Regions from separate parts of the Homo sapiens genome. Here regions 2, 3, 4, 5, 6 and 7 are each linked to region 1. The links are contacts of gene promoters, found by promoter capture Hi-C in blood cells and fetal thymus (Javierre and others, 2016). All regions are on one chromosome and are shown on one strand. Each heading gives the region's core, a stretch centred on a gene start or on the middle of the fragment in contact. The rest is flanking DNA. Distances are from core to core; before and after follow the strand shown. Region 1 holds the start of ATP6V1H (ATPase H+ transporting V1 subunit H). Region 2 overlaps PCMTD1 (protein-L-isoaspartate (D-aspartate) O-methyltransferase domain containing 1). Region 3 overlaps TGS1 (trimethylguanosine synthase 1). Region 4 has its middle 46 kb from the start of ST18. Region 5 has its middle 51 kb from the start of ALKAL1. Region 6 overlaps RB1CC1 (RB1 inducible coiled-coil 1). Region 7 overlaps RB1CC1 (RB1 inducible coiled-coil 1).

Evidence for each region. The method cuts DNA at HindIII sites, captures the fragments that hold promoters and counts their contacts. A CHiCAGO score of 5 or more calls a contact.
Region 2: a fragment that was not itself captured here is called in contact with the fragment with the promoter of ATP6V1H in region 1 in 2 of 17 cell types (non-activated CD4 T cells and neutrophils); the score reaches 6.0 in non-activated CD4 T cells.
Region 3: a fragment that was not itself captured here is called in contact with the fragment with the promoter of ATP6V1H in region 1 in 1 of 17 cell types (activated CD4 T cells); the score reaches 5.5 in activated CD4 T cells.
Region 4: a fragment that was not itself captured here is called in contact with the fragment with the promoter of ATP6V1H in region 1 in 1 of 17 cell types (M0 macrophages); the score reaches 8.1 in M0 macrophages.
Region 5: a contact is called between a fragment that was not itself captured here and the fragment with the promoter of ATP6V1H in region 1, in 4 of 17 cell types (naive CD4 T cells, naive B cells, total CD8 T cells and 1 more). The highest score is 6.9, in naive CD4 T cells.
Region 6: a fragment that was not itself captured here is called in contact with the fragment with the promoter of ATP6V1H in region 1 in 7 of 17 cell types (non-activated CD4 T cells, naive CD4 T cells, neutrophils and 4 more); the score reaches 9.5 in non-activated CD4 T cells.
Region 7: a fragment that was not itself captured here is called in contact with the fragment with the promoter of ATP6V1H in region 1 in 8 of 17 cell types (naive CD4 T cells, total CD8 T cells, total CD4 T cells and 5 more); the score reaches 9.0 in naive CD4 T cells.

What each region holds. Positions count from the first base shown.
Region 1 is chr8:53,841,391-53,844,960 of GRCh38, forward strand. ATP6V1H (ATPase H+ transporting V1 subunit H) reads right to left here and starts at 1,855. Exons shown (of 14, transcript NM_015941.4): 1 at 1,644-1,855; 2 at 188-335. The coding sequence starts at 300. RefSeq lists enhancers at 1,804-1,943, 3,241-3,290 and a silencer at 2,014-2,163. The HindIII fragment of the contact is 7,596 bases long and covers 1-3,570 here.
Region 2 is chr8:51,892,429-51,895,998 of GRCh38, forward strand. All of the region lies in intron 1 of PCMTD1 (protein-L-isoaspartate (D-aspartate) O-methyltransferase domain containing 1), which reads right to left. Among named protein-coding and RNA genes, the nearest start is that of PCMTD1, 4.8 kb to the right of the region's middle. The HindIII fragment of the contact is 1,484 bases long and covers 1,094-2,577 here.
Region 3 is chr8:55,781,293-55,784,862 of GRCh38, forward strand. It overlaps TGS1 (trimethylguanosine synthase 1), which reads left to right. Exons shown (of 13, transcript NM_024831.8): 2 at 1,456-1,520. Among named protein-coding and RNA genes, the nearest start is that of TGS1, 9.6 kb to the left of the region's middle. The HindIII fragment of the contact is 456 bases long and covers 1,358-1,813 here.
Region 4 is chr8:52,453,997-52,457,566 of GRCh38, forward strand. No RefSeq gene overlaps it. Among named protein-coding and RNA genes, the nearest start is that of ST18, 46 kb to the left of the region's middle. The HindIII fragment of the contact is 6,246 bases long and covers 1-3,570 here.
Region 5 is chr8:52,614,831-52,618,400 of GRCh38, forward strand. No RefSeq gene overlaps it. Among named protein-coding and RNA genes, the nearest start is that of ALKAL1, 51 kb to the left of the region's middle. The HindIII fragment of the contact is 573 bases long and covers 1,622-2,194 here.
Region 6 is chr8:52,633,728-52,637,297 of GRCh38, forward strand. RB1CC1 (RB1 inducible coiled-coil 1) reads right to left here. Exons shown (of 24, transcript NM_014781.5): 19 at 2,288-2,342; 20 at 1,194-1,241. Among named protein-coding and RNA genes, the nearest start is that of ALKAL1, 70 kb to the left of the region's middle. The HindIII fragment of the contact is 6,087 bases long and covers 1-3,570 here.
Region 7 is chr8:52,658,717-52,662,286 of GRCh38, forward strand. RB1CC1 (RB1 inducible coiled-coil 1) reads right to left here. Exons shown (of 24, transcript NM_014781.5): 9 at 2,819-3,003; 10 at 2,379-2,565; 11 at 2,210-2,291; 12 at 1,880-1,941; 13 at 157-260. Among named protein-coding and RNA genes, the nearest start is that of RB1CC1, 54 kb to the right of the region's middle. The HindIII fragment of the contact is 430 bases long and covers 1,722-2,151 here.

The DNA of each region.
Region 1 (3,570 bases), core at 605-3,104:
TAGGGCGCCAAGCTGTTTCCACCCCACTACACTTAACTCCCTAAGACAGCTAATTATTCTGAAGAGGAAGTGTTTCTTCCACATTTTTCAGTATTTTCCCTGTATTTCTCTCATAGAAGCATGACCATGAAAAAGTCTGATGCAAAAGCATATGACTGTCCATGATTCACAGCAAATTGGTACTTACTGAAGATAGGATTGCCAGTTGACTTTGTTTGCACGAACTTCTGCAGCCTTGGCAGCAATAATATTGGTGGGGACAGCAGCATCCACAGCACCTCGGATATCCATTTTGGTCATCTAAACTTCGTAATCTTGAATGTCTTTCAACAAATCTTCAATTTTGATGCAAGGTAAAAACAGAATACGAGGTGTTTCTTTTTTTTACAACTATTAATATTATGATTATGAATATCGTGATCACTTTAATCTCCCCAGGCATTCAACTCAAATATTAAATGTCCTAAGTCTGAAAGTATCATTATATTTCAAATATTGTCCACTGCTCCATAAAAGAGTTCTTTAGGCTTTTGCTTTTCTAGAAAAATTTTTTTCATTATTGGCACTAACACTGCAGTAAGATTTTTAAAGCAATCACCTAATATACTGAAATCAGAAATCATGATTAAATAGAATAGGTATAAATATGGGAAAAATTGTAAATTTATACAATTGTGGTTAACTTTTCTCATAGAGAAACAATAAGAATATGAATAGTACGGATAAGGCTAGTTTTATAAACATTTACTAAGCATCATTTTGAAGTGGCACATTAAAAATTCTAAGTCCTTTCGAAAATTACTCAAATTAAAATACACAAAGTGGGAACATAATTTCTTAGAAGACAGTGCTTTCCTTTTCAAACAAAATTCATAGTATTTGCAAAATCAAAATTCGGAGAGAAAGTTTTAGAACAAATACATATTACAATTTAGGTAAGCCAACAATGGCGGTCTGGCTGGACGACAAGAACCTACAATAATGAAATTCTATGTAATTCTCACTCCTAAACTTCCAGATACAAACGACTGATTTTAACACAAAGCAAAATACAGGTTGCCACTTGCAAAACATAAATTCACGGCCATGGCCACAAAGAAGTTAAAATCCTACCCAAAATTATATTCCGGGTTTCCAACGATCTTAATCAATTTGGAACTTAATCTCTGTATCTGAAGATTTGCTGTATAAACAACCCTGGGCAGCGCGAACGACAGGGCCCAGGAAAAAACAGGCTTCAACTGGGCCAGGCTGGAACTCTGCAGCCAAGGAGGCTCAGCCTCAGCGGCCCGTCCTGGCGTAGCTCAAGGTGTCTCTAGACAATTACCTAAGTCCCTGAACTACTCGCACCCCCAGCGATCCAGGGCCGTGGCCCAGTCCTGGAGAAGGTATACTTTTTACCCCTCCCCCTCCACTCTCCTGCCCGCCCCTGACGTTTCTTCCCCCTGCGAGAAAGGCTCCAGAATTTCGCTTAATAAACCTGGTTGAGGCCTGGAAGAAAAGCAATCTGGCAACCGGGGGCCGAAGAACAGGAGAGGACCAAGCGGCGAGACACCAGCACGCACCAGGCAAGCTGGAGAAACTGCAAGAGTCGCCTGACCTGGTCTGCAGCCTGAGACCAAACAACGCGAGGGCGGCCTTACCTCGCGAATCCTCGGGACCCCACAACGCACCCAAAGCCGGCAGGGAGGGTGGTCCGGGGCGCCGGGGACACAGCCGGGCTGGGGCGCCGCGTCAGAGCCAAGTAGGCGTCTCCTGTCAGGTCCAGAGGTCTGAGCAGTGGAGGGAGACTCCGGGAGCCGAAAGTGAAGCGGGTCCCGCACCAAGGAGACGTTGAGGGCCGCACAGGTAGAAGGAAGCCAGGGCGGCCGCAGTAGAATGACAGAGGCGCCGGTCACGTGATCGGAGGCACGTGACTGCTGCGGAAGGCGGAAGCCGGGAGACTCCAAAGCAGCAAGAGGAGGGGCGGGCGCTGCGGCGGGGCTTGTTCGGTGCGGACAACTGGATTCCCGAGTCCGTAACTTGGGCCCCGGAGCGACGCAAGGGTCGGGCCCCAGCCAGCCAGGGCAGGTGGGAGGCGGCGAGCGTGGCGGGCACGCTAAGACCCGCCGCCCCCAGACCTAGTGCCTCGCCTAGGGGAGGCCGAGGACCTCCGCCCGGAAGCAGCTAGCAGAGGCCAAAACGCTCTTATTGTAACCGTCATTCTTTTGAAAAGTTTGATTTCGCGCTTTCAAATTAATTTCCATTTGGATTTAACAGCTCCATGAAGCAGGCGTTCTTATTCTGATTTTAAATAGAAAACTCGGGCTGAGAAGTGGGTCTGAAAAGCTCTCTTAACCTAGGGTTGCACATTTAGCAAATAATAAATTCCATTGCAGTATTTACTTTTATACTAAAAAGTTATTCGTTGTTTATCTAAAATTCACATTTACAGGACGTCTGGTATTTTATCCAACAGTCCCATCTGGAGCCCAAATTTTCCCCTAGTCCAGGCCTCAGCAACTGTCTTTGCCTTAAAGTAAGAATGTACTGCCCTGGAGGTGAAGTATATATGATAGCATGTTTTCCTTAAAAAGCAATGAAAGGGGCCGGGCGCGGTGGCTCACTCCTGTAATCCCAGCACTTTGGGAGGCCGAGGCCAGTGGATCACCTGAGGTCTGGAGTTCGAGACCAGCTGACCAACATGGTGAAACCCCATCTCTACTAAAAATACAAAAAATTAGCTGGGTGTGGTGGCGCATGCCTGTAATCCCAGCTGCTTGGGAGGCTGAGGTAGGAAAATCACTTGAACCCAGGAGGCAGAGGTTGCAGTGAGCCAAGACCGCACCATTGTACTCCAGCCTGGGCAGAAAAAGCAAAACTCCGTCTCAAAAAGAAAAAAAAAAAATTCTTTGAAAGGGATTTATAACCAACCCATTTTTACTCGTAAAATTAAAGTCAGAATAATCAAAATCATGCATTGATTATGAATAAAGATATATAATAACAGTGTCAAAGATTGTACTAGGTCACTCATTCTGTCTTAGCCAGAAGTGAAAGTCTGTTGTTTTGAAAGCAAATCTAAGGGGAAAAACTTTCATAAAAGAGAAAAAGAAACCGATCGTGTACTAAGAAACTCCCAAAAGCTGAAACAGCATGTTTTCTGTGTAACTGAGCAAAGCTGGCAGTGAGGCCTGATCTTCGCATTTCCTTTCTGTATCACCTAAGCCACAGACTGGCGTGATACAGCGAGTCTCATCAGATTTCGGGAGGCTCTCCTCTTTTCCTAGAGGCACAAAGTTATGGAACAAAATCAGGAACAGTGCAGTGAGCAGAGGGGACTGCTTCACAGGCACCTGGGCTGGCGTTCTCCGAGCATCACAACATTACCAGACAATTTGCCTGGAGTAGGGAGAAGAGAAGAGGCAGGTACTCCCGGCATTATCTCTCTTAACATTATTTCTGTAACACTTCTATCGGAGATTTTTCTTGGTCCATTCAGGCTCCTGTAACAGTGCTGTAGACTGGGTGGCTTATAAACAACAGAAAGTCATTTTCTCACAGTTCTGGAGGTTGAAAGTTCAGAATTGG
Region 2 (3,570 bases), core at 586-3,085, 1.9 Mb before region 1:
GCAAATGTCTTCACATAACCCCACAGTTCTCTCCATTCACTTACACACTAATCATCAGGTCAGAAAAGGAACCAAAAAGCCCATTTCAGCTTTCAAACTTTATTTTCCCCTACAAGAAAAGACCACCTACTTTTTACTTTTCTTCCTTCAAAGTGTTGTCACAACGGTTGTAATAGTTAGAAACTAAATGCTCATTAGTAGGGAATATAGTTAAATCAATTATAATTGAAATACAATCTATAGCTGTAGCTATCTATAATATACTCTGAGGCTGAAATTGTTTTTTTAAGAATGAAGTGGTTCTTTATCTCCTCATAGAGATATATGGTTATGTGAAAATCCAAGTGAAAAAAACAGCAGTGTACCTCATCTTTATGTAAGTGGAAAGAAAATTTATTTATATTTCATTGTACATACAAATAAAAAAATAGTTTCCATTATATCATTCCAGAGGTAAGTGACTACTTCCCATCCCAGGGGGGAAAATGGGAGGCTGAGGAAGATACATTTTCAGTTTATATATTTTTTGTATCACTTAAAATTTGCAACATGTGATATATTAACTATTTTTAAAGTCAGTGAATTATTTTAAGCTCACTTACAATTTGTATCTTCAAAGAAGTATTTATGATTACTTTAATATTTTATAAAGCTAAGGGCAGGTAGACTACAAATGGATTAGTTTGAGAATCAGTCTCATTCCTTTATAAGCATGCATTTTAACATTCCAAAAAGAAAACGTCTCTTCCCATCACCAAGATATCCTACATTCAAAATTCTTAACAGAATTATATTTTTACTTTATAAAGCAAGAATTAATTACTTATTAGTTAGATAAACTATAAACAATACAGGGCACAATGGCAGATATAAGAAAAAACTGTAACTTCTGCATGATAACCATTAACATCGATAGATTATTTTTAAAAAGTCTGAAATTTCATATGAACTCTTCAGCAATGTAAGAATTATGTATAATCTGTGTGAGGGCATTTCAGCTGATTGTACAGCTGGAGCTTCCTGATATCACCAAAAGGAAGAAAACAATACTAAAGTATAGACAGAGTTGTACTCCATCTTTCACATCTATGCAAGCTTAAAGAAACTGTAAGATCAGAGAGTTTATGAGAATATTGCAGCTCATTAGAAAACTTGTCTGACTCAACAGCATGGAAAATAATTCAAATACTAAATCATTAATTTTTTTAAAAATTTATATACAGTACCAAGAAAGGATATGTGCACATGGAAAGACAAAACTGATTTGTCTTAAATAAACAATATAATTACCTTATAATCTGAAAACAATTCATGATAGCCTACAACAAGAAATTTAGTTCTGTTGTGGACACACACAATTAAAAACTCAAACAAGCTAGTGTGTGTGACAGAGAGAGAGAAACTAAAATCAAATATACTGCTTAAATACCAATGAAAGGGGTAGTTTACCAGTGATCATTTTCATACTTATTTACCCATACTTCCTGAGCACCCACTGGAAGACACAAGGAACAGTAAGACATAGTTTGTGCTTCAAGCATCTTATATAATCCAATTACAACTGTTAGAGTACTCAAAACAAATTTAGAGTACAAAGTATCATCACAGGTTAAACAGCTGTATGAATGTGCAGGAGATTTTACTACTGTACTACACAGACTGGGAGGTGGGGGCTCTAGGGAAATACGGTGTACGCTGTATAAACTAGACTTTTACATGGAAGACTTCTAAAGGCAGAGATGGGAGAAAGAAAAAAATTCCAAGAAATGGAAATGCATAAGAAATCAAAAAAGTAAAGTAAAACTGAAGTTTACATTCTTTTTGGAACAGCTGCTGGGACAGAAAGAATGTAACTTAATATTTTAAACTAAAACAAGAAATAAGTTTTGAAAGGGGCACTGAAGTCAAATAATGCAGTTTTGAAAGGCAACACTGAGGAACTCGGGCTTTCTTCCAGAGTGGATCAGGAGCCACTCAGCAGAGGCACAGTGGTCAAGAACACAGACTTGGAAGAAGACATGGTTGGGATTCAAATCCCAGAGCTCTTCTACCTACTAACAACTCCTTCAAGATCATGAAGTTCCAATTTCTTCACCTGTAGAATGGGGATAATATAAATTATAATGACCACATGAGAACAAAGGATTCAGCACACTGACTGACATAAACACCCAAGTGGGTTTGTTTTGTTTGCTTGTCATCAGGCAGGGAACATGATCAGGACTACATTTAGGACAATTAATAAGCAGTATTCACAATGAATGACAAACCTAGAGATTAATGTCTCTTGCTGTGTATATGGCTGCTGGAAGAACTGAAGAAAGATAGAAGAAATCAGGAACCACAATGCAGTAAGATGACAAAAAAAAAAAAAATTCTAAGAAAAGGAGAGAGAGAAGAACCAAGGATGACCTTTTGATTTTGAGTCTAGATGACTAAGAAAATGCAAAGGTCATTAATATAAACAAGCAAGAAGAATCAGGCTTGCAAAAAAAGTTTAATTCTGAATCTACTGATTCAAGATTACAAAATGACAGCTACTAAGTTGATCAGGGAGAACAACATTGGCAAATCTGAAGCTTGGGAATGAAAATAAGGCTGATGATACACAAGTGGAAGCCTGAGCAAAGAGGGTGAGGGGAATGAGCAGTTGAAACCACGGATCTGTGTGGGATTGCCAAAGAAGAGAACAAACTCTAAAAAGGAAAAGAACTAAACCTAAGGTAACACCTACAGGCAACATCTATCTATACTTCAGGAAGTGAGAGAGAAAAACAAACAAAGGCCCCAAGAAGGGAGAGTTGGAGATGCCAGTTTGTGAAAGTCACCAAGACAGACCTTCACAGCATTTCACATTCTACAGCTCTTTCAATGCTCATTATAACTTTAGATTATAAACTGAACTGACTTCATCAATTGATAACATGATTATCATTAAAGGTTTTTAAGAGCCTGCAAGTTACTGAAGAGTGCTCAGTAGAAAACACAGAAGAGTGTTTTATGCAAATTAGTTTTTAAACTCCAAGAATATTTTAAGCTCTAGAAATCATACCTGATGCATGTCTTGTATCAAGACATAAAGTTGAGTTATTTCTGGCTACCCGTGCATAATGTTCCAAAAAGGATTTTCAGGTTAAACTGGAAAATATGCTATGTCTTCCCATCAGCAATACCTCTCATTAATTTTTGAGAATACACATACACATAGTGTTTGATTCACAATCCTTCCCCACTTCAACAGCTGAAAAAATCTTACCATATTCTAAAAACGTCTTTAGGGGGCTGAAATATTTCTGTGTCACCTAATTATAAAACCCACTCACATCCAACATCCAATGTTACGTTGACCGAGAGATAATCAATGGCAGATACGCCATTTAGGTATGAATCCAATTATCATCCTTAACAATTGCCAGTAAAATGTCAAAGCTTTTCCTGTATTTTTGGTTTCTTCTCAAATACAGATTACAACTGACCATACTTTATTAATGTTAGTATTTGTCCCATTTCTTTTTTTTTTTTTTTTTTTTTTTTTGAGACAGAGTCTCACTCTTTTGACCAGGCTGGAGT
Region 3 (3,570 bases), core at 336-2,835, 1.9 Mb after region 1:
GCCTTCCTTCCTATCAGATAATGTCTTGAGCCCACCTTGCTTTTAAATAACCTTCTTCATTTCTATTTAAAAAAAAACCAAAAATTTTTTATTTAAAAACATTAAAATAAATTTTAAAATAATAAAGTAAATAAGTAACCTTCAACAAGGGGAATCTTGGCTAACATTATCTTCAACACATTTACATATTTGCTCATTATAACCAACTTGCAACCAACCATACTGGTCCTCTCCTCCACCTGACACTTCAGTGCCTCATATCTTTAGGTGCTGGCGGGCAGACCAGTGATGCCCCCTGTGCAGCTCCTGCTTCCCACCCCCAGTGCCCATGTTCCTGGGGACCAGTTGCTGCCAAAGCACATTTGCACGTCACCCCCTTGCCTGTTCATCATCCTGCTGAGTCACCACCTACTTTACATTTAATATAGTATCTCCAAAAAAGAAGCAAGAGGATGTGAAATAGAGCAAGTACACTAGAATTTTATTTAGTTAAATTTATTGTAGCTCCATTAGAAAAGTTATGTTAGCTTCCACTTGCAATTGGCCTTCTTGTGGCAGTTACAGTGGAGTTTATTACAGCTGAATTTATAGTCAGGAAGATATTAAAAGCAGAGTCTTCCACTTTTTCTTAAGTATTCTGTTAGGTTTATTTTGGTAACCTTTGCTCAGACCATGAATACCTTGTCTACTGTTCACAATGGATAGTTTGTCTTATTAGCAAATGGATTAGTGTCTGCATATTGATTTATATGTATGTAAGCTAAATCTCTCCACTGTTATTCACAACAAAATTTAGAGAACACCCCATTGTTTATGTATCATAAGGAATATCAGATGTCCAGAAGAACTTACACTTTATTTATTTATTTATTTATTTATTTATTTATTTATTTATTTATTTATTTTGAGATAGATTTTTGCTCTTGTCGCCCAGGCTAGAGTGCAGTGGTGTGATCTCAGCTCACTGCAACCTCTGTCTCCCGGATTTAAGCAATTCTCCTGCCTCAGCCTCCCTAGTAGCTGGGATTGTAGGCGCCTGCCACCACGCCCAGCTAATTTGTGTTTTCGATAGAGATGGGGTTTCATCATGTTGGCCAGGCTGGTCTCAAACTCCTGACCTCAGGTGATCTGCCCACTTCAGCCTCCCAAAGTGCTGGGATTACAGGTGGGAGCCACTGTGCCCAGCCTTAATTTTAGTAACTAGCAGTTATAGTAATAAATGCTACCATGTATTAAGCATTGTGCTAAATATTTTACATATACTATCAGTCCTTACAACAACTCCATGACAAATGTATTATTGCCTCTACATTATAAGTGAGGGAAATGTATTAGCAGATTGCTTTTCTGTTTCATAAGCTTTTTATTAATTAATCTATGATGGCTCGAGATTTCTTTCCCTCTAAACTGATGGCTTAATTCATTTCAATATGAACTGCTTAATCTGCTTCGCAGGGATCGAAAATTGTACAATTTGGGATTAAAAGGCTATTACATCAGAGACAGTGGCAACAATTCAGGTAATATAGTATAAAATTCTATAAACCTTTTTTGCTGAAATTAGCCATAATGTGTTAATTTATGTATAATTTGTTATAATATTGTATTGATTTGTTAGCATAAAATATAAATGCCAAATAATTCTGTAATCAGACAATTTTTATTTTCTTTTATAACATGGTTCTGGAATCTCTATGAAAGCAGATCTTTTATTTTTCTATAGCTCCTGTGCTGACTTAATGTAGCCTCTTTTGCTGTGTGTAGTGTTCCTTCCTGAGTTGCCACCATTAGATAAGAGCAACCTGGAATTTAAAGCTTTGAAAAGTAGGGAATATGTGGTTTCTGGCTGGACGTGGTAGCTCATGCCTATAATCCCAGCATTTTGGGAGGCCAAGGCAAGCAGATCACTTGAGGTCAGGAGTACGAGACCAGCCTGGCCAACATGGTAAAACCCCATCTCTAATAAAAATACAAAAATTATCCAGGTATGGTGGTGGGCACCTATAATCCCAGCTACTCAGGAGGCTGAGGCAAGAAAATCCCTTGAACCCAGGAGGCAGAGTTTGCAGTGAGCTGAGATTGTGCCACTGCACTCCAGCCTGGGCAACAGAGTGAGACTCCATCTCCAATTTAGAATATGTAAATTCTAATCATAATACACTTCATGAGAAGTGTATTATGTAGGTAAATGCTGCAGGATAAAAAAATGCTACGGGATAAAAATTCCAGGTGAACATCTATAGTCTTTTGCCTGAAGTAAAGAGACTGTCATCTTGGTTAACTTTCCCAAGTAACAAATATAATTTATACTGTACATTGAGCCTCACTTTGATGTCTCAAACTTCCCTACTGCATTTGTCCTTCCACATAGACCTTTTGTGTTCCTAGACACAGAGAAAATTACAGCGTGGAGTTAGAAGCCAAAGTCAGCCCAAGTACAGTGTCATAGTTACCTTCGGAAACCCTTTAACTCTCATGGCGATGGAACAAATTACTGTTTCTTCAGTTGATCACTGGATGGAATGTTTGGTTTGTGTTTCAGTGCTATGCTATACAAATAAAGTTCCTATAACACTAGGCTCCTCGAGCATAAGAAAATATGCATACAATGAAAGGAACATAAAACTTAGCTTACTCATTTTCTCCATTTTGCTGTCTCCTGAGCTTTCGTAAGTATATTTGAATGGAGTAGTGAGTGGAATCCCCTTCATTATTTAGAAAGGTATCTTTCTCCCTCTTGTAGCAGAATTTGCACACAAGAGATTTCTCTTTATCAGTCTTCATTTTGGCTATATAAGATTTACTGTTCTGTTGCCTGAGACCATCAAGCTGGAGTGCAGCCCAATGCTAATTGAGTGTGCTAATACATAAAATGATTTTTTGTTATCTCACATTTTAAAGTTAATAGAGCACTTGAATGGCATATGTTCAATTAATGGTATAATTACTATTAGATAACCATATTGGTGTAAAGTAAAACTTACTTTGTTGTAATAAATGGTTTTTCTATAAGAATTAGATTCAGAGAGCTTGAAAAAAATCTTCCAGTTTAGGGGATTTCAAACCTTTCTCTTTTTGAGAGAGAGAGAGGGTCTTGCTCTGTTGTCTGAGTGGTGATCGCTTAAGCATTCCTCTCACCTCAGCCTCCCAAGTAGCAGGAACTACAGGCACCACCACACCAGGGTAGTTTGTTTTTTGGTTTTTGGTTTTGTTTGTAGTGACAGGGTCTTGCTGTGTTGCTCGGGCTTATCTCAAACTCCTGGCCTCAAGCAGCCTCTCAAAATGCTGGGATTAGAGCCATAAGCCACTGTGCCCAACCCCAGGATTTCAAACTTCTAATAGCAGAATCCTTTTGTTAAATCAGCTCTTCCACAGAATCCCGGAACCTAAATCCCAGTTGTATTGAAGTGTCTGTGAGGGGCATGAAGACATGCTTCTCACCCGCTCTTGTTAATACCTCCTAAAATAACTTCACAAATCATGATTTTTAAATTCACTGTCTTAGTTCAGTAATTTTGCAGATAAAGAATGTGAACATATAAGTATTTTCTCCACGTACCAGGGTTACAT
Region 4 (3,570 bases), core at 765-3,264, 1.4 Mb before region 1:
AAGGGACATTTCATTATGAAAAAAGTTTAATTCATTAGCAAGATATCACAATCATAAATATGTATGTGGTTAGCACAAAGTTAAAAATGCATGAAGCAAAAACTAATAGAAGTAAAAGAAGGAATAGACAATTTCACAACAAACATTAAAGATTATGACACTCTTCTCCTGCCAATTAATAGAATAACTAGACAAAACATAATTATCCAGATTATCTGAAGATTATCAACCATCTGTCTTTAATTGATATTTATAGCACAATTGCAGAATACAAATTCTTTTCGAGCACATACAGTTTATTAAAACAAACAAAAAAAAATTACAGGTCCATAAAATAAGTCTAAATCAATTTAAAAGGTTTGAAGTCACAGAGAGAATATTTTCTGACCACAGCAGAATATAATTAGAAATCAAACAGATAATCAGGAAATCCTTATATATGTGAAAATTAAATAGCACCCTTCTAAATAATCCAAATATCAAAGAACAAATCACAAAGAAAATTGAAATTCAAAATTAAAATATGTCATAACAAAACTTGGGAGATGCAGCTAAAGGAGTATTTAGAAAGCAATTTATAGCTTTAAATGACTATATTAAAAAGAGTTCTAAAATTAATGACTGTTTCCACTTCATTAATTATAAAAAGAAGAGAAAAGTAAATCCAGTGTAAGTAGGAAAAAAGAAATAATGAAAATAAGTGCAGATTAATGAAATAATTATAAAGATAGAAAAAATAAAAAAATTAACAAAGTCATAATATGTTTTTATGAAAAGACCCACAAAATTGATACACCAGATTGATCAAGAGAAAGGACACAAACTATCAACATCAATAATGAAAAAGAGGTTATCAATACAGATCCTACAGACATTAAAAGATAATAAATGATATTACCAAAAACAACTTTATACCACCAAATATGAAAACTTTGATGAAATACGACCTTTCCTTGAAAAATACGTCCTTCAAAAATTGAGGCAATGAAACAGAAAATATGAGCCACCCTACAGCTATTTTAGAAAATGAATTTGTTATCAAAACCCTTTCTATAAGAACTCCAGGTTCAGATGGTTTCACTGGTAAATTCTAAACCAATCTTATATAAACTTTATTTCTGAAAATAGAGAAGAGGAGATACTTTCCAACTCATTAGATAAGGTCATTCCAAAGTCTGGCAAAGATTACAAAAGAAAAAAAGAAATTGCAGACCAATACCTTTTATGAAAATGGATGCAAATATACTTAACAAAATTAGCAAATTAGACCTGGCAATTATTACTAAATAGGGCTAACCCCAGTATTGCAAGGCTGGTTTAATATTTGAGAATCAATGTAATCCATCCCATTAATAGAATAAAAATTGAAACTACATGATCATTTTAATAGACAGAAAGGCATTTAACAAAAAAAAAAATCATTTTTTAATTTTAGAAAACACCCAGAAAACCAGGAATAGAAGAAAACTTTCTCAGTCTAATAAAGGGCATCTAAGAAAAGCCTACAGCTGATACTATATTTAATGGTAAAATAATAACCACTTTCTTCCTTACAAGACCAAGGGAAGAATACCCAGTCTTTTTACTTCTATTCAACATATGGAGGTTCTAGCCATTTTAAAGGGCCAAGAAAAAGAAATAGGTAAAAAGATTGACAGAAAGAAGTAAAATTGTTTTTATCTGCACAAAATATAATTATCAGTACAAAAAATTCTAACAATTACTGAACTAATAAGTTATATTAAAGTTGCAGGATTAAAGGTTGAGATAGATACCAACCATCTTTCTTTAATTGATATTTGTATGTATAATGTCTTTTATATACTAACATAAAACAATTGAAAACTAAAAATTTTTAAATCCAATTACAATACCACTGAAAAGTATGAAATATCAATGAACAGATTTAACAGAAAATGGAAACAAGATCTCTAGATTTAAAACTACAGAACATTGTTGAGAAAAATTAATGACCTAAAGAAACGAAGAGATATTCCATGTTCACAGATTGTAAAACTCAATATTGTTGTGACATCAGTTCCTCCCCAAAATTATCTATAGATTCAAAAGAATCATATTTGTAATCCCAACAGTGTTTTTAAGTAGATTTTGATAAACTGATTGTAAAGTTTTTACAGAAAGGATAGAGGACCAAGACAGCCTCAAGTGATCTTGAAAAAGAATATCCAATTTGGAGGATGTACAGCTATCTGACTTCAGGAATTACTGCCAAGTTCCAATCTCAGGATAGTGTCAATCTTAAGGATCAACAAACAAATCAAAGGAAAAGAATGGAGAGCCTGGCAATAGACACATATATTTAAAGACTATCTGATTTTTGAAAAACTCACAAAAGTAATCCATTGGAGAAAAGATATAGCCTTTTTGACAAATGGAACTGGAGTAGCTAGATGTCTTTATGAGGAAAACAAATGGCATTCAGTACCTCACACCATACATGAAAATTGATTCAAGATGGACCATAGACCTAAATGTAAAGGTTAAGGCCATAAGAAAATACATAATAGCTTTCATATTTGGGAGTACGTATGCAAAGTTTTCTGAAGTTATAGAAACAAATAATCATGGAAGAAAAATATTAATGAATTAGACTTCATCAAAATTAAAACCTTACCCTCATGAAAAGATACCACTAAGAACATGAATGACATTCACAGACGTAAAGAACATATTCAAAAAACCTTTATCTGACAAATTGCTTGCATCTGACCTATATGAAGAATTGTTACTACCAAAGACTAAGACAAATATTTCAATTATGGAAATGGGCAAATTTAAAACAGATACTTCAGAAAAGTTGTAGAAGTGACCAGTAAGTTCATGAAAAAGTGCCTAAAATCATCAGTGGTCGGCAAAATCCAAAGTAAAACCACATAAGATAGCACTACATGGTCACAAGGATTGCTAAAATTAAAAAGATCAATAACACCAAATACTGGTGAAGACAAGGAGCAACTGGACTTCTTATATATTGATGATGGGAGTGTTAACTAGAATTACCACCTTGCAAAATGGACTGACAGTTACTGATAAAACTAAACATACACCTATTCTATGATCCAACAATTTCACCCTTAGGTATATATCCAAAAGAAATGAAAACAAGCATGCTAAAAGCAGTTTTATTCATAATAACCCAAATCTGGAAATACCCCACATCTCAATGAATAAACAAATGGTGGCAAATTCATGCAATAGAATGCTATGCAGTTTTTTTTATAAAAGACAGCTGACGCATACACCAATTTGCATGAATCTCAAAAACAATGCTGAGTGAAAAAAAGCCTATGCAAAAGAATACAATGTGTTTGATTCCATTCATATGAATTTCTAGAACAGCAAGCCTAATCTATGGTAGAAAAGAATCACCACAGTGATTACCTCTGAGTGTTAAAGACGGGGATTAACTGGGAAGAAGTAGGAGAAACTTCCTCTGGTAAAAACAGTGTTTACTTTAGACAAATCGAGGTGTACATTTTCCCAAATTCAACTAGTGTGCACTTAAGATTTGTAAATGTATCTGTAAATTATACATTAAAATTATATAAA
Region 5 (3,570 bases), core at 658-3,157, 1.2 Mb before region 1:
TATCATACCCCACATGACATGCCCTGCACGTATACAACATGGAAAAACTAGTAGTAAATTATAAAATTTTTCAATTTCACAAAAGTTTGAAGATATTTAGAAAACACGCAGTACTGGCATACTTATAAAAGGAAAGAGATTTATCTTTCAAGCAAAAAGATGACTATACATGCACACACATGTGCTCTAAATGTGGAGAAACATCTTGACATTCCAGTTATAGTCACAAGCCTCTACTCACCTTCCAATCCTCTGAACTAGGGACTGTTGCTAGTTCATGATGTGAGATTTCAACTACCTCAACTGAGCATACTCTTTATTAATAACAGTAAATGGCTGTTTAATAAAATTAACATTCAATTGTTTGAAAAGCCTCTCTGATGTCTTAGGAGTGCACAATTGCTCATGGTCATCGCTAGTTAACGTGGAGGTCATTTGGGAAATAACAGGTTTCAGAGTTAGGCAGTGACCTGTCATACTCCCGCTTCACATGGGAGTACCAAGACCAGAGAGGTGAGAGAATTCTCTTAAGGAGTAGCATTTTTAAATGCTCTTACTTATGAAGTTATTTAATAAAATACTATTATTTGTAAGGCACTTCAAAATATTTTAAATATGCACAATTGCCTTTAGTTCTAATTGTTAATAGGAAGAGCCCTCTAGTAAGATTTCCAGAGTGTGAAATGGCCATTGTCAGCATTTAAGGAGTAAGGAGCCCACTCATGCTTCCCTGTATTCTTTGATGCTATAGGCTGAACTGGGGGAATATTAATAAAAAATGCATTACTTTTAGAAAGGATCTAATTAAGCATATGGTGGCATGAAAACAGAAAGGAAAAGGCACAGATTTTTACTGGACAATGGATAGCCTATTTTAAAGGTGACATGTTGACAACTCCAGGAGTCGTGCTTCTCAATCAGGTAGAATGTAGAGATAAACTTTTAAGAAATGACTAGGCCAGAAATTGCTGAAAGAATACAGTTATAGTGTATGCTTGTGAAGATAAGCTTCGTACTTTTGGAGAAGTTTAAGAACTCATTCTTTAAGAAACTAGGCAATTCATGTTAGAAGCCTGGGCTGGTTAAGGAGCCCACTGGTAGAATTCCAGAGAGATTACAGTTGACACCTAATTAACTCCTCACTAATACTATGACTATTAGAGGAATTAATTGATGGTACTTCCAGAGCAGTCTAAGAAAAGGGTATTACACCACTGATTTGGAACTAGATTGTCAAAAGCATCTTTGCTATTAGGTCCCACAAAACTGGAAGAGTTCATTCCAAAGCAAAACATAACATTTGTAAAAATAGCTCTTGAGAGCCTAGTGTTGCAAATTCTTAAATTGTCAACATTTAAAACTTTAGTGATGGTTTAGTACAGTTAGAGGGATTCTTGTCTCTAGAAGGCCAAAGGGTGACATGGTTAAAATGGTTCACTAGCACGGTATTTCAATGGGGCATAGATACTGGGTAAAGAGGCAGTCCTATGTGTATTCTTACAGGACATGTACATTATATTACTGCTTTGATTAGAAGAGTACATGGAGGACTAATCTTGCATTTTGTTATCTCGAGGCTTGCTACTTGTTTCTACTAACATTAGAATTGGTATTGCTATTAAGCTTCATTTTAAGGTGGGAATGAAACAAGCAGGTGGAGCTCTAACTGGTTTCCAAGTCTGAGACACCTAAGAAATATGTAAACCCAAATAGCTTACAGCTGACTGTTCAGTCTCATTACCACTATGTTAAGAATTGTTTGAAATAACTTCCATCTTACCCATAAAAATTATAAACTATACAAAGCATTTTTTTAAAATGGCCAAAGACAGCTTACGTCCTAAGAGTATGACTAACGTTAAGAGCTATCAATTAGTGGACATTAATAAAGAGTTTTCACAGCTTTCCAGTTTTTACTTCAAAGTAAAATGGATAAATCTATGAAAATGAGATTTTAAAGTAAACATTACCAAATTTGGTGCCTTTAGGCATCATTAAATCATATGCTTAAAAAAAAACAAACTCCAAGTATACCGATAAATTTTTATCTAAATCTTAAAGGGCAATAGCTATTTTAGACCTAACTTTAAAAAAAATGTGATTTTAAAAAGATCACAATTTCCTTGCAGCTACTCTTATACTTGGACTCTGGGCTGGCTCTGTGACTTACTTTGACCAAGTGACATGACTTCCAAGCTTCTTTTGCTGTCACTCTTTTCGGAATGCTGCTGCCACTGTTTAAGAAACCCCAGGCATTTTGATAGAGACTCAAAAGGAACCAAGGCATCCCTAACTAATCTCCAGACATGATTGCAGTCACATGCGCAAATGGTTATTTTAAGCCAGCAAATGTAGGCATTAACAGTTACACAATATACACCTGATACAGAAATTAGCACCAACAGTGAGACTGCTGCCCTAACAAAAACTTAGAACGCATGGCACTGCCTCACAAAGGCTATAAGAATAGTGAAGAAAATTGTACTAGCAGAGGCTGGAAAAGTAAAGAAACTGCTACTGAAAGCTGGAAAGATAGGAACTTGTGTCTTGTGGTGGCAAAACAAATGGCAAAACTATGAAGTTGTGACTCTGGCTAAGGTTAGTTTCCAGGAAATGTTCAAAGCATCAATTGGCTTATTTTGGTTCTGTATAGTAAGGCATGGGAAGAGAGAGATGAAACAGAGAAGAAACTGTTCTGCTGGGTTGGATCCAGTCTCTGCAGCAAGCTGAAAATTCTCAAAGACAGACAGTTTCAGGGTAAGGAATCAAGCCTGTGGCTGTTAGGCCCTTTGCTATGACTTCAGGTTTAAGTCATAAGCCTAATAGACCTTCTTATGTAGACAAGGGGTGCTCCTAGGAGTCTTGAGTGTTTTCCCATAGTACACTAGCCTTCCAGAGAGAAGTCTGTGTGAATTACGACTTAACTTTTAGAGAACTTCTGTCAGTTTTATAGGAAACCCAAAGTTTTTAAGGAAACTATACTTTGCTGAACACATATAAAGATATTTCAAAATGAAAAGGGCCTCAAGGCACCCAACTTTGAACAAACAGGAAATAACCAATCTATTGTATCAGTCAACTTCAGAGCATCTGAAGCAAATACCGCACTATTCATTTTCAGCAAATGTATCCCTTTAGTCCCTTTTTGTTCTTTTGGGCCCATGCATTAAAGTAATGACATTCAGTGATTCAACTATTTTAACCACTAGAAGAAATTAAGGTACACACTGAAATTTTTCCCCCTAATTGGAAAATCACCGTTAGAAGTCAGAAGTGATCAATTTGACTCCCAGATGAGATTATAATTCTGCAACAGTGGCCAAGTCACTAAAGTCTCTGAGCCTGTTTTATCTTTAAAATGATTAGGCCAGTAGTAATGTCACAGAAAATAGCAGATTAGGACCCTCAGATAATTGGTCCCTCCACTTAAAGTACCTGATGCAAAAGTCCTGTACAAAATACTAGCAAATTTGAGTTCAGCAGCATATCAAAAGGATAATATAATGACCAAGTGTGATCTATTCGCAGAATGCAAGGATGAGTCAACATACAAAAATCAATTGACATATT
Region 6 (3,570 bases), core at 596-3,095, 1.2 Mb before region 1:
TTGGCTGTAAAATGGGCTGTTCAAATAATTGGTTAAATTCACAGGTTAAAGCCAAGGCAGTTTGGTTGGGTGCAGCAAAATTCCAGGCAATTCCAATTTGCCTGGAATCCCAGCACTTGGGGAGGCTGAGGCAGGCGGATCGCTTAAGCTCAGCAGTTCGAGACCAGCCTGGACAAGATGGTGAAACCCCATCTCTACGAAAACAAAAAAACAAAACCTAAAACCAAAACAAAACAAAAATTAGCTGGGTGCAGCGGCACTCGCCTGTACTCCCAGCTACTTGCTGAGCTGAGACAGGAGGATTGCTTGAGCCAAAGAGGTTGAAGCTGCAGTGAGCCAAGATCGCAACACCACACTTCAGCCTGGGCAACAGAGAGAGACCTTGTCTCGATTTTTTTTTTTTAATTAAAAACGAAACAAAACAAATCAATAAAAACCAGGGCAATTTACAGTACCACATGGGATCTCTTGCCTTTCAGGCACTTTCACTTAAAAATAAGATTCATGAAAAGGGCTGGGTGCAATGTTTCACACCTGTAACTCCCAGCACTTTGGGAGTCCAAGGTGCGCAGATCACCTGAGGCCAGGGGTTTGAGACCAGCCTGTCCAAAATGGAGAAATCCTGTCTCTATTAATTATGTAAAAATTAGCCGGGTGTGACGGCGCAGCACACTTGTAATCCCAGCTACTCGGGAGGCTAATGCACAAGAATCACTTGAACCCGGGAGGTGGAGGTTGCAGTGAGTCGAGATCACACCACTCCAGCCTAAGCTACAGAGCAAGACTGTCTTAAAAAAAAAAAATCATGAAAAGATACAATGTATTAAAATTACGCACACTTGTGAGTAAATATATTAATCTTCAAAAGACTTATGAAACATAACTCAAAACTGATTTTGATGATTTTAAGAATCTTAGGTGCTTCAACTGGTCAGACCTACAGCCGTAAATTCGCCAAGACATTATTTAATTTCACGCTAAGGAAAAAGTCTGACTCTACAGTCAGGAGATAACTCTGGCCTGACTTCAGCATTCTGAAAATCAATAGGATTCAATGACCAACACGGACCAACAAACCTACTATAGATAAGTCAATCAAAGCATACATCCTCTGATGGAATATCTTCATAATGAAATATAATGCAAATCATTTAAAAATGTTAAGACCAATTTACCAAGAAGAAAAATCTTACCAGTCTTTGATTTAACCGTTTATTTTCTTCTTCTTTCAATTGCAATGTCTGCAGGTGGAAAAAAGAGACCTGTGGTTTATCCTTGTACCTACTCAAATAAATCTAAACAGTGATTGTCAAAGTTTTCATCAGACAAAAATGTTTGGTTCGGGTATGAAAAGTTGATGGGGATATTATTTTCTATGAATTCTTTCCAAATGTTTTCATTATCTACTAGCTTAAATGAGAACCAGAGCAATTTTAGATACATTTACCAAGGACTGTCAAACATTAATATGCGTTAGAAACACCTGTGGAATATATAAATATGTAGTAAAAATCTGAGATCTATCCCCAGAGACTTTGTTAACTAAGTCGTGCCTAAGAGAATACATCTGGCATCTGTAACATACATCTCAGGTTATGCTGAGGTAGGAAATCACATAACCCTTTCATAATAGAAAACATGCTATATTCAAATGAAGTTGTACAATTCTGAATTTGGATTTTTATCAGACAATTACACTTGTAAAGAAAAAAAGGCATTGTTGAAAATCTTATAGGCCTAAAGAATGAAAAGTAATCTATGAACAATGATCTGCCAAATGTGTACCAATTTGATCTTATAGTACCCTTAATAAAGGAAACCCTTTATTATCAGTTTTTTCTTGTCCATTTCAATTCTTTATTTAAAACATAACTCCCTTCATTACTTATTTTTGTTTTTGCCAATTTCTAAAAAGTATTTAATACTTTGTTTTTGAAATAGATGTTTAAAATTGCCATTCATGTTATTTTGCTGAATTCTCAACTATTAGGTAAAACTATTACTTTACACATTGATTTAATAAAAACTACCAACTTTTTCCTCTCATACAGACTTCATTCATTGGGAAATTACAACAAATGGGAGGGCTGAAATACTGTCAACTGTTTAGCTAGTAAGATCATAAAATGACAAGACTTCCCAAAACAGTGACCACAAAAATAAGTTAATCATAAAAAGGCTTAATTTATAAACACAAATAGTCTATTGTATGTTTCCAGAATGAAGTTTAACTGTATCCAAAAGTGAACATATTAAACATGGTACTTCAAGAAGATAATTTACTTACTCGTTCTAACAGCATTATCCGCTGTTTTTCTTCAGACAACATATGAATATTTTCTCTAAAAGTGAGAATAATTGAGTTTCAGTTTGAAATTCTAAACTTTACATTCTTCAAGATTTTAGAAATTAAAATATTAATACAGATCACTTTAACAATTTAAGGGTTTTCATAAATTTTCAAAAGTAGCTTATTTCAGTTAGCATGTAATTTCAATGTTGTATATTCTCTGTAGCAGACCTAGATCTATAAACCTTTTGAAATAATAAGTAAAACTCTGTGTATGCATTTATCTAGAGATGTCTTTAAATTTCTTATTTTTCCCAGGCATTAAGAACCACTCTTCTTAATATTTGTGAGTGAATCCATGATAAAGTCGTAGTTCTTGAGTGGCTAAAGACTTCAGTAGATTTACTAAGTGGATGCTATGTACTCACTAGTTACTATGCCAGGTGTGAATTTGCCCAATACACTAAAACATCCAAAAACAAATTAGAAAATTTTAAAAAATGCTATAAAATTAGAAAAGAGAAAAACAATTATTATTTAGGTTTTAAAATTCATCTACAGGTATAATCCCCAAATTATATTTCAAGTAACTTGATGCAAGGCAGGTATTCTGTCTTCTTCAACATGCTACTTCTTTAGGAAGACGCTTTGCCTAATATAAGGTCATAAAGATTGACTTCTGTAAGAGTTTTATAATTTTAGCTTTTACACTTAAGTCTATGATCTATTTAAGTCAACCTGCGCATATGGTGAGGAAAGGGTCCAACTTCATCCTTTTGCATCAGAATATCCAGCTATGCTATCCCTGCACCATTTGCTGAAAAAGCTATTTCCTTCACGGAACCGTCTCAGCACCTTTAACCAAAATGCAAGGGTTCAACCGACCATGAATACGAGGGCTAATTTTGGACTCTCAATTCTATTCCACTGATACAGTCAGGCTAGCACTACAGTGTCTTATTACCCTTGCTTACAAATTTTAAGATTAGTCAAACAGTGTGAGACTTTGTTATTTTTCAAGATTGCTTTGGCTATTTTGGGACTCTTGCAATTCCATATGAATTTTAGGATCAGCCTGCCCTTTTCTGCAACATAACACAGTTCAGATTACGATAAGAATTGTGTTGAACTGGCAGACCAATTTGGGGAGGGCTACCATCTTAAGGCGATTAAGTCTTCCAGTCAGTAAACACAGGATGCCCTACTGTCTTAACTTTTTTCCATGTTTTGTAATTTGTACAAGTATTGAACTTCTTTTGTTAAATCTATTCCTAAGTATT
Region 7 (3,570 bases), core at 687-3,186, 1.2 Mb before region 1:
CCAGAAATTTCTCAAAGCAGTCACAGGAAAGCCAGTCTATCTTAAATATTTCTTATCTTGGCACCTCTTAAGATTACTGGTACTACCTGGCACAACTCCAGAATAATAAAAACATTTTAAGGTTATAAATTAACTGAAAATACTAATGACATTTACCTGAGGAATGGCTGAACTTCCGAAGGACAAAATGATTGCAGAAACTGTAAATCTTTTAATGAAATATCTGGAAGTTCACAGTCAAACTTTCGAGGCTTTTGAGTCTGTACCAAAAAAATTAATTACTTAAAAAATTTTTTTTCAACCAAAAACAGACAGCAAATTTATATGATTTCTTACTATAATTAAATTTACTATACCAAACAAACTAAAGTGCTTTAAATGATTAAGAAACAAAAAAAGACCATTCAATAAAGATATGGCATATTATTTTCCTGAGCCTTTAGTAAACTGCGACGTGAACTGCTAGTGATCAAGGGATGCACTTGTTCCTCCCCTTCTCTGCTTTTAGCATCATTTTATGGGAATTACAATATTCCTATCCTGTATGTGTATGTATGTACATATACATATGGTAAACACATATGTAAGTGTGTGCGTATATATATAATATTTACCATGTTAAAGCCACTAATATATTAAAATGCACACATGTATTTTTTTTCCATGTAACACTTTCTTATTTGCTTTTGCCTTGACTTTTCCATTACATTTTCCAGAAGACAAAGTTTTGGTCAATTTTAGCTTCTGTAAAAAATATTAACCGGTAAATCCTACCAATTCATTATTTATAAAATTGCCAAGAGTTGCATTAAAAAAAAACTTGTTTTAAATCATTACTCAAGCAGATGTGGAGATGCCAAGATGCTCTTCATAAAAAAGAGTTCTCGGATAAATAAGTATGGGAATCGCTATGTCACCAATTCTTATGTATTAAAAAATGCATACATTTAAAACACTAAGAAATCCTGCAGTATAGAAACATGTTTAACAGCTAAGCATGGCTGGGCGTGGTGGCTCACGCCTGTAACCTGAACAATTTGGGAGGCCAAGGTGGGCAGAACACTTGGGGCCAGGAGTTTGAGACCAGCTGGCCAACACGGTGAAACCCCGTCTCTACTAAAATACAAAAACTTAGCTGGATGTGGTGGCAGGCACCTCTAGTCCCAGCTACTTGGGAGGCTGAGGCACAAGAACAGCTTGAACCCAGGAGGCTGAGGTTGCAGTGAGATGAGATTGTGCCACTGCACTCCAGCCTGGACAACAGAGCAAGACTCTTGTCTCCAAAACAACAACAACACAGCTAAGAGTACATCTGATGGGGGTAAAAGCCCCCATATTGCTTTGATCATGGAAACGTTTCTTCTCATGTAATACAATTAATGACCCCAGATAACAATGGTTTAGAAACATATCAAACTAACGTTTAATTCCAGTGAAGTCTAACTGAGGCTTTATTATTCTGATTTGTCAAAATATAAAGGGGGGTGGTGTGAAAAGAAATATAGAAGGGCAAGGAGGAGGTGGAGGCTGTAAAGGAGGAGGGAGGGAGAAGAGCAGTGGAAGAAAGAAGAGGGAAGGGTGGAAAGAAAAAAAGGAAGAGACAAGAAAACAAAAAAACCAAGTGAATCTATTTCTACCAATCCTAACAGTGCAGTATAAGGTATCTTCCTGTGTTATGAAGATTCTTTATAAAAAATTATGAATACAAATATCAATCTTAAAGCTTTATGCTAACTGGCTTTTAAAGCCAAAAACACTTTTATTTTGATTTTTTTTAAACCACAACAATTTCTGCAAGTTTCTGATAAATGTCTCTACTTCTGGAAAAAAGGTTTTAAAACATATGGAATTTAGTCATGGTTAGAAAATAAATACATACACAAAAGGAAGGGGGCCAGGAGTCCAGTCCCCTAAACAGACGATTTCTTAAAAAAGACTTCCCTGTATAAAGAAATTAACAATATGGTTATTTTAGAGCTTTATTTAAGGCAAAAAATTATCTCTGGTTTTTGAAAAGGTAAATTAAAAGTTGACAGTACTTCAAGTTTAAAATTTAACAATGGATTCAATTCTATACACTTTAAAAGGAATATTTCCTAGATATCAATGGCAATTAACAGCATATACATGAAGTATGCTACAGAAAATCCAAGCTTATAAAAACTTTTATCCTTTACAAAAGTAATTAAAATTATTAATGAACACTTACTAAATAATTTCCCAAAGGATTCCCTTTTTGATTTTTCTGCTTCATATAATCTCTTTCCATCTTTGACTAAAGCACCAGCCCACTAGAAGAGGAAAGCTTATGTTAAACATAAACATACACCAATTCGTTAAAGTTCATATACAGTTAAAATAGAATTCAACTTGCATACCTCCCTGTAGTGTTTTATGAACATTTTTCTTCTTACAACCTCAACAACAGCTAAGCAGTACATCTGAGGAACTGTACTAAGAGCTTCAACAATTTTGACTCTTTCTAACAGCTCTATTACGAGGCGGAGCAAAGCTTGTAACTTCTCTCCATCTTGATCAGCATGAAGCATTACAAAGCAACACCACCTAGAGAATAAAATCCATTATTTTCAACATTCACAAAACTGGTACTAACTTAGTTACTTACTTAGTAAGCTTACTAACTTAGTTAAGCCAAAGAAATCAAGATATATAAGCTCTACAAAAATAGTCTAATTCCAAAGTTCATCAATAAGGTATTTCAATAAAATGGTAGGGAAAAATCACTCCATCATTTGGGAGAAATAAATATAAATACCAATTCTAAACATCTTAAAACAGATATAAATGAATCACTTACTTCAGTCTGACATGTAGGTTATTTGCTAGTTCTTGTTTGGCAGTGGTACACTTCTGCTTAATATCTAACAGTTTTCTATGATTTTGCAACATAATCATCAACTGATTTGCGTGACTCAGGCATAAATCAGGTAATACAGATGCATCCTTTAAGTTTTCAGCTCTCTTCTGATTAGCTAAAAATCCCTTTGAGAAAAAAAATGTTTCAAAGGACATTAATTTTGTTTCATGAAAGGTATGGACATTCAGTTAAGTGGAAAATCTTTATGTTAAACACAACCCGTTTTGTGCCTTCTAACAATATTTTTAAATCCTCTATTTTTCTCGAATGTAGTAGATGCATAAATGGCACAAGACCTAGAATTTTTAAGAATCCTATGCTCATCTTTAATTTTTCAAACTAGAAGAAAATAAAGGCTAGAAAGATAAAGCCCCTTAGCCAAGGACATACTTAATAGTCAATGAGAATTAGAAGCTATGTGTCTAGAATCCTATAACACTATCGGTCAGTCACAGCACAAACAAAACAAGGTCACTGAAAAACAATAAGGGATTTAATCTAGCAAACATTATACAGTAGTATATTAGACACTTTCCCAAATATAAAAATAATAAAATGCCCTTAAAATATTTATCGAAAAGTCACTGCCCTCTCCAGTTATCTCTGGACTATATTTTGTTCCACTGATCTGTGCTCCCATTGCTAGGACAATGACTGAATTGTGTGATTTTACACAGAGTTTATACTTTATT